3 separate regions of the Homo sapiens genome follow, and regions 1 and 3 are each linked to region 2. Evidence: promoter capture Hi-C in 16 types of primary human blood cells and fetal thymus (Javierre and others, 2016). All regions are on one chromosome and are shown on one strand. Each heading gives the region's core, a stretch centred on a gene start or on the middle of the fragment in contact. The rest is flanking DNA. Distances are from core to core; before and after follow the strand shown. Region 1 overlaps HAUS5-DT (HAUS5 divergent transcript). Region 2 holds the start of DMKN (dermokine). Region 3 holds the start of PMIS2 (PMIS2 transmembrane protein).

Region 1 (4,554 bases), core at 993-3,492, 93 kb after region 2:
ATGACATTACCTTGTGACATTCCTTCTCCTGGACAATAAGTCTCCGGAGCTCCCCACCGAGCACCTTGTGACCCCCGCCCCTGCCTGCAAGAGAACAACCCCCTTTAACTGTAATTTTCCACTACCTACCCAAATCCTATAAAACTGCCTCACTCCTATCTCCCTTTGCTGACTCCTTTTTCGGACTCAGTCCGCCTGCACCCAGGTGATTAAAAAGCTTTTACTGCTCACACAAAGCCTGTTTGATGGTCTCTTCACACGGACGCACGTGACAAAAATAAAATCCTAAGTCCGCCAACTGGCTGAATGAACACTGTCTTGGCCAAGGGGCCTACAGAGAAACACTAAAAGCTGAGTTCCTAGCCGTGACTGAACGGGTGGTCGGGCACACCTCATTCTACCTCCTCCCTTGCTGACTGCCATGAAGCTTTCTTCCCTAAGGGTTAAACAGAAACCAGCCCTATTGAAAGACTCATTCACTGCTAATTTCAACCAATGGCCTGAAATACATGGCTGCTCCTCCCTTTTGTGGTTTCAACATAACAACTGACCAGCATTCCTTCCTGATCAGAGGCCACCTAACCACGGGGTGTGGCTCTGGCCAGTCTACAGAGGCTGCACACAAAGGGCCTTTGTGTCCTCTGCATCACCTTTTGATGTATAGGGCCTAATTGTAATACATTTAAGTGTTAAGTCTCCACTCCAAAGTGAACATGGGGCCTGGCACGGTGGCTCACGCCTGTAATCCCAGCACTTTGGGAGGCCAAGGTGGGCGGATCACCTGAGGTCAGGAGTTTGAGACCAGCCTGGCCAACATGGTGAAACCCTGTCTCTACTAAAAATAAAAAAATTAGCCAGGCATGGTGATGGGTGCCTGTAATCCCAGCTACTCATGAGGCTGAGGCAGGAGAATTGCTTGAACCCTGGGAAAGAGAGGTTGCAGTGAGCTGAGATCGCACCACTACACTACAGCCTGGGTGACAGAGTAAGACTCCATCTCAAAAAAAAAAAAAAAAAAAAAAAAAAGTGAATATGGGATGTTACTACACATGTGCTGTACCTTCCCTTCATGAATATTCATAGCTCCTCCTATAACCTGTTGAATATGTATACTGAGCCAAGCCATTCAGCGTTAACTCTGACCTTATCCTTCCCTTACTGGAGGTGCCTGCTCTCAGCTTCTACCGGAGGCTACACTTCTCGGCCTGTGAGATGGCCCGGCTGCAGGCTGCAACTCTTTATGAGAAATAAAGCTCTCCTTTCCAAATTTGTAAACCTGTATTAGTCTGTTCTCACGCTGCTGAAAAGAACTGCCCAAGACTGGGTAATTTATAAAGGAAAGAGGTTTAATTGACTCACAGTTCCGCAGGGTTGGGGAGGCCTCAGGGAACTTAAAATCATGGTGGAAAAGAAAGCAAAAACGTCCTTCCTCAGATGGCAGCAGGAAGGAGAAGTGCCAAGCAAAGAGGGAAAAGCCCCTTATAAAACCATCAGATCTCGTGAGAACTCACTATCTCAAGAACAGCAGCATGGGGGTAACCACCCCCATGATTCGATTACCTCCCACTAGGTCCCTCCCACAACACATGGGGATTTGGGGAACTACAATTCAAGATGAGATTTGGGTGGGGACAGCCAAACCATATCAAAACCTCATGATTCTTCAGTTGACATCTAATCTGAGCTACCATGGTCTATCAAAAAACCACAGCTCTTGAGGGGATCTCAATGGCTGTTAACAAACTGGTTAGAGTTCTGGTCAGGTTCTGATTGTAGAGAGCCTCTGTAACAGATATGGATTGCCTCCTTCCCCCCACCCTCCTTGTTATTTTTATTTCATTTTATTAAATTTTTTTTTGAGACAGGGTCACACTATGTCACCCAGACTGGAATGCAGTGGCACAATCTCAGCTCACTGCAACTTCTGGCTCCCAGGTTCAAGTGATTCTCATGCCTCAGCCTCCTGAGTAGCTAGGACTACAGGTGCATGCCACCATGCCCAGCAAATTTTTATATTTTTTGTAGAGACAGGGTTTTGCCATGCTGCCCAGACTGGTCTCAAACTCCTGAGCTCAACCAATCTGTCTGCCTTGGCCTCCCAAAGTGCTGGGATTATAGGCGTGAGCCACTGTTCCCAGCCATGATTTTTATTTAACAAATACTCATTATTTAACAAATACTTTCTGAGCACCTACTGTGTCCCAGGCATTGTCTTGGGAACGAGGAACACAACGGAGCAAGAGAAGTAAGGCCAACTTCTTCTCTGATGGAGCTTACATTCTAGTGGGAAAGAAAACTATAAACAAGTATACCCAAAAATAAACAAGATAATTACAGGGAATGGTAAATGCTATAGAGAAAAATAAAACAGAATAAGAAGCTAAAGTGGTGCCAGGACTGGTCCAGCAACTATTATGGTGTTGGGAGCAAGCCCCCCAAAATATGGCCATAAACTGACCCCAAGACTGGCCACAAACAAAATCTCCACAGCACTGTGACATGTTCATAATGGCCCTAACGCCCAAGCTGGAAGGTTGTGGGTTTACGGGAATGAGGGCAAGGAACACCTGGCCCGCCCAGAGTGGAAAACCACTTAAAGGCATTCTTAAGCCACAAACAATAGCATGAGCGATGTGTGTCTTAAGGACGTGTTCCTGCTGCAGTTAACTAGCCCAACCTATTCCTTTAATTCGGCCCATCCCTTCGTTTCCCATAAGGGATACTTTTAATTTAATATCTATAGAAACAATGCTAATGACTGGTTTGCTGTTACTAAATATGTGGGTAAATCTCTGTTCGGGGCTCTCAGCTCTGAAGGCTGTGAGACCCCTGATTTCCCACTTCACACCTCTATATTTCTGTGTGTGTGTGTTTAATTCCTCTAGCACCAGTGGGTTAGGGTCTCCCCAACCGAGCTGGTGTCTGCAATGGTGTGCCACCAGATAAGTACGGAAATTGCCAGCAAGTGTTTAGAAACACAGCAATTTGACATATCCATGACATCCAAGTATAGGATCAATGGATTTTCTTGTTGAACAGGGTAGAGACCAAAAGGATTGGTCCATGACAGGTTGGAAACATCAAACAAATGATCCTTCTCCATAGTTACAAGTAGTTTGAGATACACTGAGCTAGTGGGCAATGATGTCTACAAGGTATATTATTTAGAGTCATGCTAGCTGCTATAACAAATAAACCCCACCATTTCAGTAGCTCACAAAATAAAAGTTCTTTTTTTTTTTTTTTTTGAGACGGAGTTTCACTTTTGTTGCCCAGGCTGGAGTGCAATGGCACGATCTCAGCTCACAACAACCTCTGCCCCCTGGGTTCAAGCGATTCTCCTGCCCCAGCCTCCCAAGTAGCTGAGATTACAGGCATGCACCACCACACCCGGCTGATTTTTTTGTATTTTTAGTAGAGACGGGGTTTCTCCATGTTGGTCAGGCTAGTCTCAAACTCCTAACCTCAGGTGATCCACCTGCCTCAGCCTCCCAAAGTGCTGGGATTACAGGCATGAGCCATCACGCCCAGCCAGAAGCTCATTTCTTACTGTTCCTTTGAGCACATTCCAGCATCAGGGTCTTTCCACTTGCTGTTCCCACTTTGGGAACTCCATTTTCACAGTTTTCAAGTAGCTCTCACACTTTGGCTCTCACGTCTCAGCTCAAAGAACATCTTAGAAAGGCCTTCTGTGGCAGAGCCAGCAGGATGTTTATTGACTGCCTAGACCAGGACTACATTTCCCAGAGGCCCTTGCAGCTAGTTGAAGCCATAAGACAAGTTATGTTCAATGGACTGAGAGCAGAAGTGATGTATGTCACTTTAGGGTGAAGACTTTCAAGAAGCAGGTGCGAGTTCCTTATTCTCTCTTCTGCCTGGATTCAAAAGACTCTGAGCCCATAGAAGATGGTTGAATCACCTTATGGAAGAAGCCTGGATCCCTGAATTACTATGTGGATCAGGAGAAATGTCTGATGGGATGTTCTATGAGTAAGAAATGAGAAGACTCTTCTCAAACGTGGAAGGAGCTGCTGAAACCAAAATCACAAGTCCTAGAGAAGCTTCTTATTATCTCTCAGATGGTGGATGGGTTCCAAAAAGCATCCTGAAATTATCCAGAAAAACAGAAAAGAGATTTCAGATAAAGCAAAGGGAGAGAGATGCTGACAGAAGAAGACCAAGAGGCCACAGGGGCTCTGCTCCTTCAGGATCTAAGAAAGCAGGAAGGCACCAGTACCTCCCACCAAGGCCAACAGAACAGATACCATGAGAAAGGAACCAAGAAAAGGACAAATGGTGACATGTCTCCAAAACAAGGAGACATTGAGCATAAGAAGCAGAAAGTGAGGCCAGGTGCAGTGGCTCACACCTGTAATCCCAGCACTTTGGGAGGCTGAGGCAAGTGGATCACTTGAGGTCAGGAGTTTGAGACCAGCCTGGCCAACATGGTGAAACCCCGTCTCTACTAAAAATACAAAAATTAGCCGGGTATGATGGTGCATGCCTGTAATCCTAGCTACTTGGGAGGCTGAGGCAGAGAATTGCTTGAACCCA
Region 2 (4,441 bases), core at 1,688-4,187:
TCCACGCACCTCCTCCTGTCTGACACTTTTCCCGACCCCCGAGGAAGCCAGATGTGGCTCCCTCTCCAGCTCGACTCCAAGACACGGGATGGGAGAGGCCGTCAGCCAAGGGGTTGGACAGGCCATTGACCAGGAGGCTGGAGAGACTGCCGGCTCTGGAGTCAGTGAGGCCCGGGGCCCTGGGGTGGCAGCTGCGGGGTCACAGCGCCCCTTCCTGCCCTCACACCCATCGTGCAGGGGCCCCATGTGTGAATGTCGTCTGCACCGTCGCTCTGTCAGCGTCCGTAGGTCTCCCGGATCACAGTCCTGCCCCCATTCTCCTGGGAGCTTCCCAGACAAGTGTCATATTCTCCCATGTCCCCCTCTTTCTCCGCCACCCCACGGTCTCCTGAGACTTGCCAAGTGGACTTGACTGCAAGAGCTTAGACAGGCGGGATAACGTCCCCACCATCACAGAGTGGAAAATAGGGATACAGAGTCAGAAGCAGTGGGGTGGCTCTGGCAGAAACGATAGTGCGCGCATCAGGGGCACAGCATGGGTGGGGAACAGGAGGCTGAGGGAGCCTCAGGGTGACGACTATCAGCGAGGCCGCCCATCCTCGGGCAGCGGCAGCTTTCAGAGAAACTTGGAGCCCTCTCCCGGCAGGGACCACTAGGGCCTCACCCCATCTCAGCCTTCCACAGAGGTGCCAAACTCACCCAGGAGGACTCACTGCCGCTGTCACCTCTGCTGCCACCACTGTTGCCACTGCTGCCACCACTGCTGCCGCCACTGCTGCCGCCACTGCTGCTGCCACTGCTGCTGCCACCACTGCTGCTGCCATTGTTGTTGTCACCATTGCTGCCACTGCCACTGCTGCCCGACTGTGAGCCGCTGCCTCCCTGAGGGGCAGGAAGGGAGCAGGGCTGGGATTAAAGACAGAGCACCAAGACGGGCCCCTCCTCCCTCCCTCTCCACCCAGGCCATATTCCATGATGCCCAGTCTAAGGGGAGCAGAACTTCTCCATTTCCTCCTGGTGCACAACTCCTGGGTTGCCCCTCTCCACTCACCCCAGAGTTGCTGGAGCCTCCACCTGAGCCAGATGGTGGGGGATTCGTGCACTGTCGAGGGAAAGGGATGGTGAGTTTGGGGACGGTGAGTTTGGAGACGTTGGCCTCGGCCATGGACACAGGCCAGGCCTCTCCCATTCTTTGGGGCTTGGCTTCCTTTCTCCTAATGTGTTTCTCCCACCTCCCCTTCCCATCTGCCTCCTCCCCAGGCCCAGGCCCGTCTCTTCCTCCTTTTTTTTTTTTTTTTTTTTTTGAGACAGGGTCTCACTCTGTTGCTCAGGCTGGAGTGCAGTGATGCGATCTCGGCTCACTGCAACCTCCATCTCCCAGGTTCAAGTGATTCTCCTGCCTCCGCCTCCCAAGTGGCTGCAATTACAGGCGCATGCCACTATGACCGGCTGATTTTTGTATTTTTAGTGAAGACAGGGTTTCACCATGTTGACCAGGCTGGTCTTGAACTCCTGACCTCAGGTGATCCACGTGCCTTGGCCTCCCAAAGTGCTGGGATTACAGGTGTGAGCCACCTCGCCCAGCCCCATCTCTTCCTCTCACCCCAATCCCTCCACTCCCCCATCTTGCTTTCCTCTTTGTCTTTCCCCAGCTCTCTGTAGCCTGCACCCAGTGGCTTCTTCATTTGTTCCCAGCCCCTTCCTCTTACCCCTTCATTCTGGTTGCTGGCTCTCACTGAACCATAGCCAGGCTGGGCCACAGCTCCCTGCAGAGAGGGTGAGACTGAGAGTAGGATCCAGAGGGACCAGGGAGGCACGCGGAGCATGTGGGCTTGGAGGGAGGGAGGTGGCAGGTAGCAGGTCTGGGGGTGACTTTACCTGAGTGTTGGTCCCAAAGTTTGGTGGCCCTCCATTGCCTCCTTGACCCCAGGGAGCTCCCTGAGGATTCATTCCAAAGCTGCCTGCTGAGTTTCCGGGGTATCCGTGGACCCACGGAGTCCCCAGACCTCCAGGATTGCCCTGGCCCTGGCCTCCAAGGCCACCTTGAGAGCCAAAGATGCCATGGCCTCCAGAAGTTTCCTGCAAGAACAACATACCTGCACTTAGTGGGACCATCTCTGACCCTGGTAGAGAAGAGCCAGGGCAAATCATAAAGAGACCAGGAGAGAGACAGGCAGAGGGACTCCAGGGTGGCATAGGAGGGGGGCAGAACATAGAAGGAAGCTGCCCCAGAAGCCTGCAAGTAAGAGATCCATCCATCCTTTCAACCGTTTCCCAAGAATCTCAGCCCAGCAGCCCACAGCCTCCCATTTCCACATGCAGCCCCACAGCCACTCACCCAAGCACCATTGTGGCCAGGCACCCCCTGCCAGGAGCCGCGGACAGCATCTGCTCCGTGTCGAATGACATCTTCTGCCTGTCTGCCAATCTCGTGCCCAGTGTTTCCCAGAGCATGGGCTGCTTCCCCGACCCTGTTGCCCAAAGCATCTGCTACGCCAAAGCCTGGAACCTGCCTGACTCCAGTGCCAACTGCTTCTCTGGTCCCTTGGCCAAGGGCCTCACTGACTTTAGAGCCAGCTGCCCCTCCGGCCTCTTTGCCAATGGCCTTTCCCACCCCTTCGCTCAGGGCGTCTCCCAGGCCATGTCCAAGGGCCTCCCCAATATTTGTCCCAGTGCTTTCCTCTCCGCTCTGCAGGGGGCCAGCCTCCCCACTGCCCAGGCAGAGGGCCAGCAGGAGGCAGGCCAGGGGCCCCTGGAACTTCATCTCTGCCCAGCCCCCTCTCTCTCCAGAGTGTCTTCCTCCCACCAGGGTCTCCTCCTTGCCGCCCTTGCTCTGCGTCTCTGTGCCCTCCTCTGTCCTCCTCCTTCCGACTCCCTGTCCTCCCTCCCTCTGGGTCTGCAGCCTTCTCTCTCCTGTCCTCAACTGCCTGGGCTTCTCAGAGTCCACCTCCCTGTCACTACTCCTTATACTCTAGGTTGGGAGAAGGTGACAGGGCTGGGCAACCTGAGGTCCCTCCCCGCAGTGACTCAGGGCCCAGCCACCAATAGGGTAATCAGCTGTTATTGTGAGTCTGAGAGTCTCTGTCGAAACAGAGAGTGAGCCGCATCAGGGAGGGAGGGAGAAATGGATGAGGTGATGCAAAAGTGCTCCCATTTCCCAACCCCAGGCATTCGGGGAGCTGGGTGGGGGCAGGGGCATCTAAGGAGACAGGTTGTCGTTGGCTCCTGGAGGCGGTGGGGTGGGGGCAGACTTAGAAGAGAGGAGTTACTGGCAGGACCCCACCAAAGGAGTAAGGACAGGGAAGCCCCAGGGGACAGGACCCACCCAGGCTCAGCCAGCCTGGCTCAGGGGCTCCAGAGTGACAGGCATTGCCCGTCCTCGGCCTGGCCTTTCTCGGTTTCAGCACCTCAGCCTCTCCTCTCCCTCTCCCCTCCCGCATTGCCACCTACAGGTGACTGCCTTCTTGTTCCTCCACACCTTCCAGCCCACAGAGAGAGACTGGCAAACACGGGGCTGCGTGTCAGTTTCTGAGATTCTGGGGAGAGCCCCCGGGGGGACCCTCGGTGTCGGGGAAGGAGGTGGCCATAGCCCTTTGAGTGGTCAGCAGGGTGTCTCAGCGTTCAGGCTGCTCCCGGCTGAGAAAGCTGGGCGCGGAGCAGGGCAGCCAGGCGCGCCAGCCACCCCCAGGGAACGAGTGGGAGGGAAGGCCAAGGGAGGGAGCCGCTGACCCAGGCACCCATCCTGTTTACGCAGCCCTAGAGGGGCACGTGTGAGTATAAGCGCCTATGAGGGGCGGGACTGGGCCAGCTCACCCCACCCATCCCCCAGGCCAGGGGCCAGGGCAGCAATGGCAAGCGAGAAGAGGGTAGCGCAAGGTCAGGAGCCATCCGTGAGAGCCACGGCCCTCTCCCCAGTCCCAGCTCGGGATACAGAACCTGGGAGCCTCCCCCCGCCTCACCCCTGCCCAGCAAGTGTGGCTGCTTCTCTATTCCCAGGGGCCACAGGGCCTCCCACTGTTTCGTATCACTGGGGTTCATCGCCCAGTTAGGAGGGGCCAGTTTCCATCAGCCTTTCTCAATGTCTCTCAGTCAGTCTCTCTCTTCTCTCCACCCCAATATCCGCACCCCAGCTTATAACATCCAACACTTCTTACCTTGTAAACACTATCCCCATCTGTCCTCCTCAGCTCCTACTTCCCTGTTATTCCATCTCTGACTCGTTAATGATGATAATAGCGATGGTGGTAATAATAATAATAATAATAATAATAATTACAGCTCCAGCTTATCAGCGGTTCTGTATGTACCCAGCATTGGACTAAGCACAAGCAGTTTAAGAATTATACAACTCTGGGAGATGGTTCTTTTTTTCTAGAGACAGGGTCTTGCCCAGGCTGGAGTACACTGGCACAATTGTAGCTCACTGCAGCATCGACCTCCT
Region 3 (4,504 bases), core at 1,841-4,340, 74 kb after region 2:
CCTTTCTTGCTCACTGCCTGGATCCCTGCAATATGGCCACTGCTTCTGCTGATCCTCTGATACTGCCCTTACCAAAGGAGCTAATTCATTCCCGCCTTCAGAGCTGGAGTACATGTCTCAGGGCTTGACACACTTGTCCATGTACTTGTTTCTAAGCCTGTCTTAGTTTGTTTGTTCCACTATCCAAGGGACTTGCCAGCAACCAATACACATGCTTCATCTCACCCAACCTTCACTTCTGTCTTCCCCCACCTCGGCGCCCCATGTTCTGTTGTCCTGGAACATCCACTTGGTCCTTTGAAAGGCTCTGAATCAATTTCCTCCATGAAGAATATCCTGACTTCTGGATTGCATGTGTTGTCACTGTTCTTCTAACTACTTCTAGGTCCAGGACTGGTCTTAAATACCCAGGTTGTGTCTTGGACTAGCCATACTAAGGTCTACATTTGTGGACTGCACAGTGTCACCTCCCACCCACCCCCAACTTCCTGAAAAGTGGCTCCTCAAACCCTCTACTCCCCTAGAACCACCAGCTAAAGGAAGCATCAGCTAAAACCCCACAGTATTAGCATTCATTAAAAGCTCCTACCTGAATCAGCAATTACTATGGTATTTGAAAATGTTCTCTAATGGTGCATAACAAATTCCCCACAGGTATTAACTCACAGTTCTGTAGGTCAGAATGGCTGCTTCTCTGCTCAGAATCTACCAAAGCTAAAATTAAGGTGTCAGCTGGGCTGGGTTCTCATGTGGAGCTCAGGATCCTCTTCCAAATGAATGTGATTACAGCAGGATTCACATCCTTGCTGTTGCAGTACTAAGGACCCCGTTTCCTTGCTGGCTGTCAGCTGGGAGCCATTCTCAGCCAGAGGCTGCCTGGATTCCTCCCTACGTGGCCCTGGTGACATCTTCATGCCAGCAATGGAGACCTTTGCTTGCCTCCAATCCTCTCACACCTGAAACCTCTTTTGCCAGGAAGACTCAGTCCTTTTCAAGAACTCACCTCATTAGGTGAGGCCCCCAGAGGATATTCTTCCTAACTTAAAGTTAACTGATTTCAGACCCTACCTACGTCTGCAAGACGCCTTCCCAGCAGCATACAGACTAGTACTTGACTGAGTGACTGGAGAAGGAGTGTGTACACCAGGGAGCAGGAATCTTCGGGTCATCTCAGAGTTCTGCCTACCACATTGGGGATTTCCTGTTCCATCGTTCCATTAGGTTGTGTTCTACTTTAAGAAAGATCTTCCCCCTTTTCCCCTTCTTTCTCTATTCTTTCCTTTTTTCTTTCTGTCAGCATAAACCAAGGAATTCTTTTTTTTTTTTTTTTTTGTCATTTTTTCTTGAGATGGAGTCTCACTCTGTCACCCAGGCTGGAGTGTGCAGTGTGATCTCGAATCACTGCAACCTCCGCCTCCCGGGTTCAAACGATTCTCCTGCCTCATCCTCCCTAGTAGCTGGGATTACGGGCGCCTGCCACCACACCCGGTTAATTTTTGTATTTTTAGTAGAGACGGGGTTTCACCACGTTGGTCAGGCTAGTCTCGAACTCCTGATCGCAGGTAATCCGCCCGCTTTGGCCTCCCAAAGTGTTGGGATTACAGGCATGAGCCACTGCGCCCAGCCGGAATTCATTTTTAATTCAAGACTTTACAATCCACTTCTGACACTACTCATTTTCCTCCCCTCAGTAAATCTCTTACTCTTACTGGGCGTGTCTAGTTTCTCTCTTCCACAACTCCTGGGAGACCCTCCTGACATCGCCCATCCGCGCAGGCTGCAGAGAGAGATCAGTGGGAGGAGGAGGAGCCGAGAGCCACCACTTAGGCTTCCAACCAATCCCTACCAGGGTGGGCGGAGCCCACTTCCTGATTGGCTGCACTCTCTGTGTCTTGGGGTGGGCGAGAACGGCGGGGCCACGCCCCCTAACTAGGCAGCCAATCAGGACGTGGGGTGCTGGTTTCTCCATTGCGAAGCTTCAGCCTTTGATGGTTTGGGTCCTGGGAGTCTGGTTAGTACAAGGGGAAGCCTAGTGGGTCTGGCGCTCCGTTTTCAAGACACTCGGAGTCCGTCTTTGAGGGGAAAGGTCATGGCCCTGAAACCACCTTCTGCCACCCAGCCTGCTCCCAACGCGCCAGCTACCCCAGACGCCCCCCCTACCACAGGTGATCCAGGTGCTTCAGCTGCCCCAGGTTCTCCCACTACCACAGGTGGTCCAGGTGCCCCAGCTGAGGTGCCCCAGGAGCCGCAAGAGCCTACACAGACACCAGAGGAACTAGCATTTTACGCCCCAAACTACCTATGTTTGACCATCTTTGCTATACTTTTATTCCCTCCATTTGGATTGGCAGCTTTGTACTTCTCTTATGAGGTAAAATAATGCCCAAGTCATAGCCCCCGTCCTTTTTTTTTTTTTTTTTTCTTTTTGAGACCCAGTCTCACTCTGTCCCCCAGGCTGGAGTGCAGTGGTGCAATCTCGGCTCACTGCAATCTCTGCCTTCCCGGTTCCAGCAATTCTCCTGCCTCAGCCTCCTGAGTAGCTGGGATTACAGACATGAGCCACAGTGCCCGGCTCATTTTTGTATTTTTAGTAGAGACGGGGTTTCACCATGCTGGCCAGGCTGGTCTCGAGCTTCTGACCTTGTGATCCACCCGCCTTGGCCTCCCAAAGTGCTGGCATTACAGGCGTGAGCCACTGCACCCAGCCTACCCTGTCCTCCATTTGGCCCCTGCATCTGCTCCTATCCTGGGACCTGCATAGGGGCTTTCCCTCAGTGACTGCAGGTCTCCAACCGTTCTCCCCAGGGTTCCTGGACACAGAAACCCACATCTATGCTTCCACCCCTACAGACTATGAAGGCCAACCAGAACAGTGAATGGGAAGAGGCTTACATCAACTCAGGCCGAACTGGTTGGTTCGGTGCATTCGTGGTAATGATTGGCTTAGGCATCATTTATGGCTTGGTCCTATATTAATGAAGTCTAGGCATAGCAACCCAGGGGTCCGCTCCCCAACCGAGCCACTCACCAAACACTAACCAGCCAAGTCAGCCATCAGGCAAGAAATTCAACCGCTGAGACATCTAGCCAAGAAATCCTCTAACCAAGGAACTCAACATTCAAGAAACCCACCAACCCAGGAACACACAGACCACCTGCCTGTGCTACTTCAACTCACTCAGCTCCAGAGCTGTCTTCGTTCACCCTAGGGGTCCACACTTCATGCCCTAGATCCCTTTAGCTCCTTGACACTGGGCTGTTCTTTCAGAGGAATTTTAAACCAAAAAACTGGAATGGAATGTTCTGGTTTCCTGTGGTGTGTGTGTATGTGTGTGTGTCAACATGCCCATGATTGTTTTCTGGGTCAGTGGTCAGTATCTGTGTTTCCCTGGAGCTGTTTCCTAGACTGTGAAAATCAGAATGTCCCAATGGGGAAGCCCACAGACATAGAATTCAGGCAGATGTCAGTTAAAAACTTACCTCTGACACTGAAAAACTGTATAGCCCTGAACAGATACTTTTCTTGAGCATAGTTCCTTTGTCTCTAAAGCAGGCATAATTGCCAATGTGGGGATGATATTTAGAAATCTGAACTGATGTTTATTCTCTAGGGGTCTTCTCATTTGAGCTGGGATTGGAGATGTCTAGTGTCTCAGAGCAGCAATAAGAAAACAGAAACCTCTTCCAGCTTCTGACATCCAAATGTCAAGCTCTTAGGAGAAGAATGGAAAGTCCTCAAGAAATGCAAATAGCTTTGGCAGAATAGCTGATGAAGACCACCTCTCCCCCCTCCAGAAAGGCATTGGTTCCCCATTCATGGAAAAGGGAATGTAGAGAGAGATTAGACAATAGTACATCCATAAGGTTCCTGGAATCTGCATCTGAGGAAGAGGGGCGTCAGAGACCCCAGCTGTTATCTATAATCCCTCCTCACAGATAAGGCCTAGAGAGGCTCCAAGTTCTCAAAGAAGATATGCTACATGGTGTAGACATTTACAAAGAAATGACCTCAGACAGCCAAGGAGGATACCCCATGGCCCAGCCTAGTGAGAAGAAGGTGGGTTCCATAGGAATCCCAAGTGCCAGGTGGAGACAGAACTGTAGAGGAAAACTAGGGATAAGCAGGGAGCCATCGTGCATGAATCAAAACAGAGATCTAGACTGACACCATGGGCCACAGACACCCCGGGGCTGCCTCTGATGCCCAAGCTTCATGGACAACCCCAAGTTCAGAACCAGATGAATATTTAGCACAATATTTAGCAGAACTAAGTTTCCACCACCATGGAGAATGGGGATTCTCAGTAGAAAGTCAATGGAGCTGCTGGGCAAGAGACTGCTCACTGTCCCCCAGAGCCCATCGCCTCTTTGTTCTGGGAACATTGCCTGGCCACGTCTCAGAGGTTCCCCTCTGCAGCCATGAAATGTGCTTTGGTCCTGTGGAATGTGAGCAGAACTGACATGTACCACAAACAAACCTGGCTTTTCAATGTCTCCTGGGACA

Evidence for each region. Contacts are between HindIII fragments. The CHiCAGO score rates a contact against its expected background, and 5 or more counts as called.
Region 1: a fragment that was not itself captured here is called in contact with the fragment with the promoter of DMKN in region 2 in 4 of 17 cell types (M1 macrophages, M0 macrophages, M2 macrophages and 1 more); the score reaches 9.4 in M1 macrophages.
Region 3: a fragment that was not itself captured here is called in contact with the fragment with the promoter of DMKN in region 2 in 3 of 17 cell types (M2 macrophages, M0 macrophages and M1 macrophages); the score reaches 6.2 in M2 macrophages.

Annotation. Positions count from the first base shown.
Region 1 is chr19:35,604,699-35,609,252 of GRCh38, forward strand. It overlaps HAUS5-DT (HAUS5 divergent transcript), which reads right to left. Exons shown (of 2, transcript NR_186318.1): 2 at 3,691-4,105. Among named protein-coding and RNA genes, the nearest start is that of HAUS5-DT, 5.7 kb to the right of the region's middle. The HindIII fragment of the contact is 3,634 bases long and covers 426-4,059 here.
Region 2 is chr19:35,510,712-35,515,152 of GRCh38, forward strand. DMKN (dermokine) reads right to left here and starts at 2,938. Exons shown (of 16, transcript NM_033317.5): 1 at 2,339-2,938; 2 at 1,879-2,079; 3 at 1,710-1,766; 4 at 1,052-1,102; 5 at 700-882. The coding sequence starts at 2,764. The HindIII fragment of the contact is 13,607 bases long and covers 1-4,441 here.
Region 3 is chr19:35,584,171-35,588,674 of GRCh38, forward strand. It overlaps PMIS2 (PMIS2 transmembrane protein), which reads left to right and starts at 2,003. Exons shown (of 2, transcript NM_001395412.1): 1 at 2,003-2,371; 2 at 2,806-3,126. The coding sequence starts at 2,090. The coding sequence ends at 2,976. The HindIII fragment of the contact is 2,233 bases long and covers 1,975-4,207 here.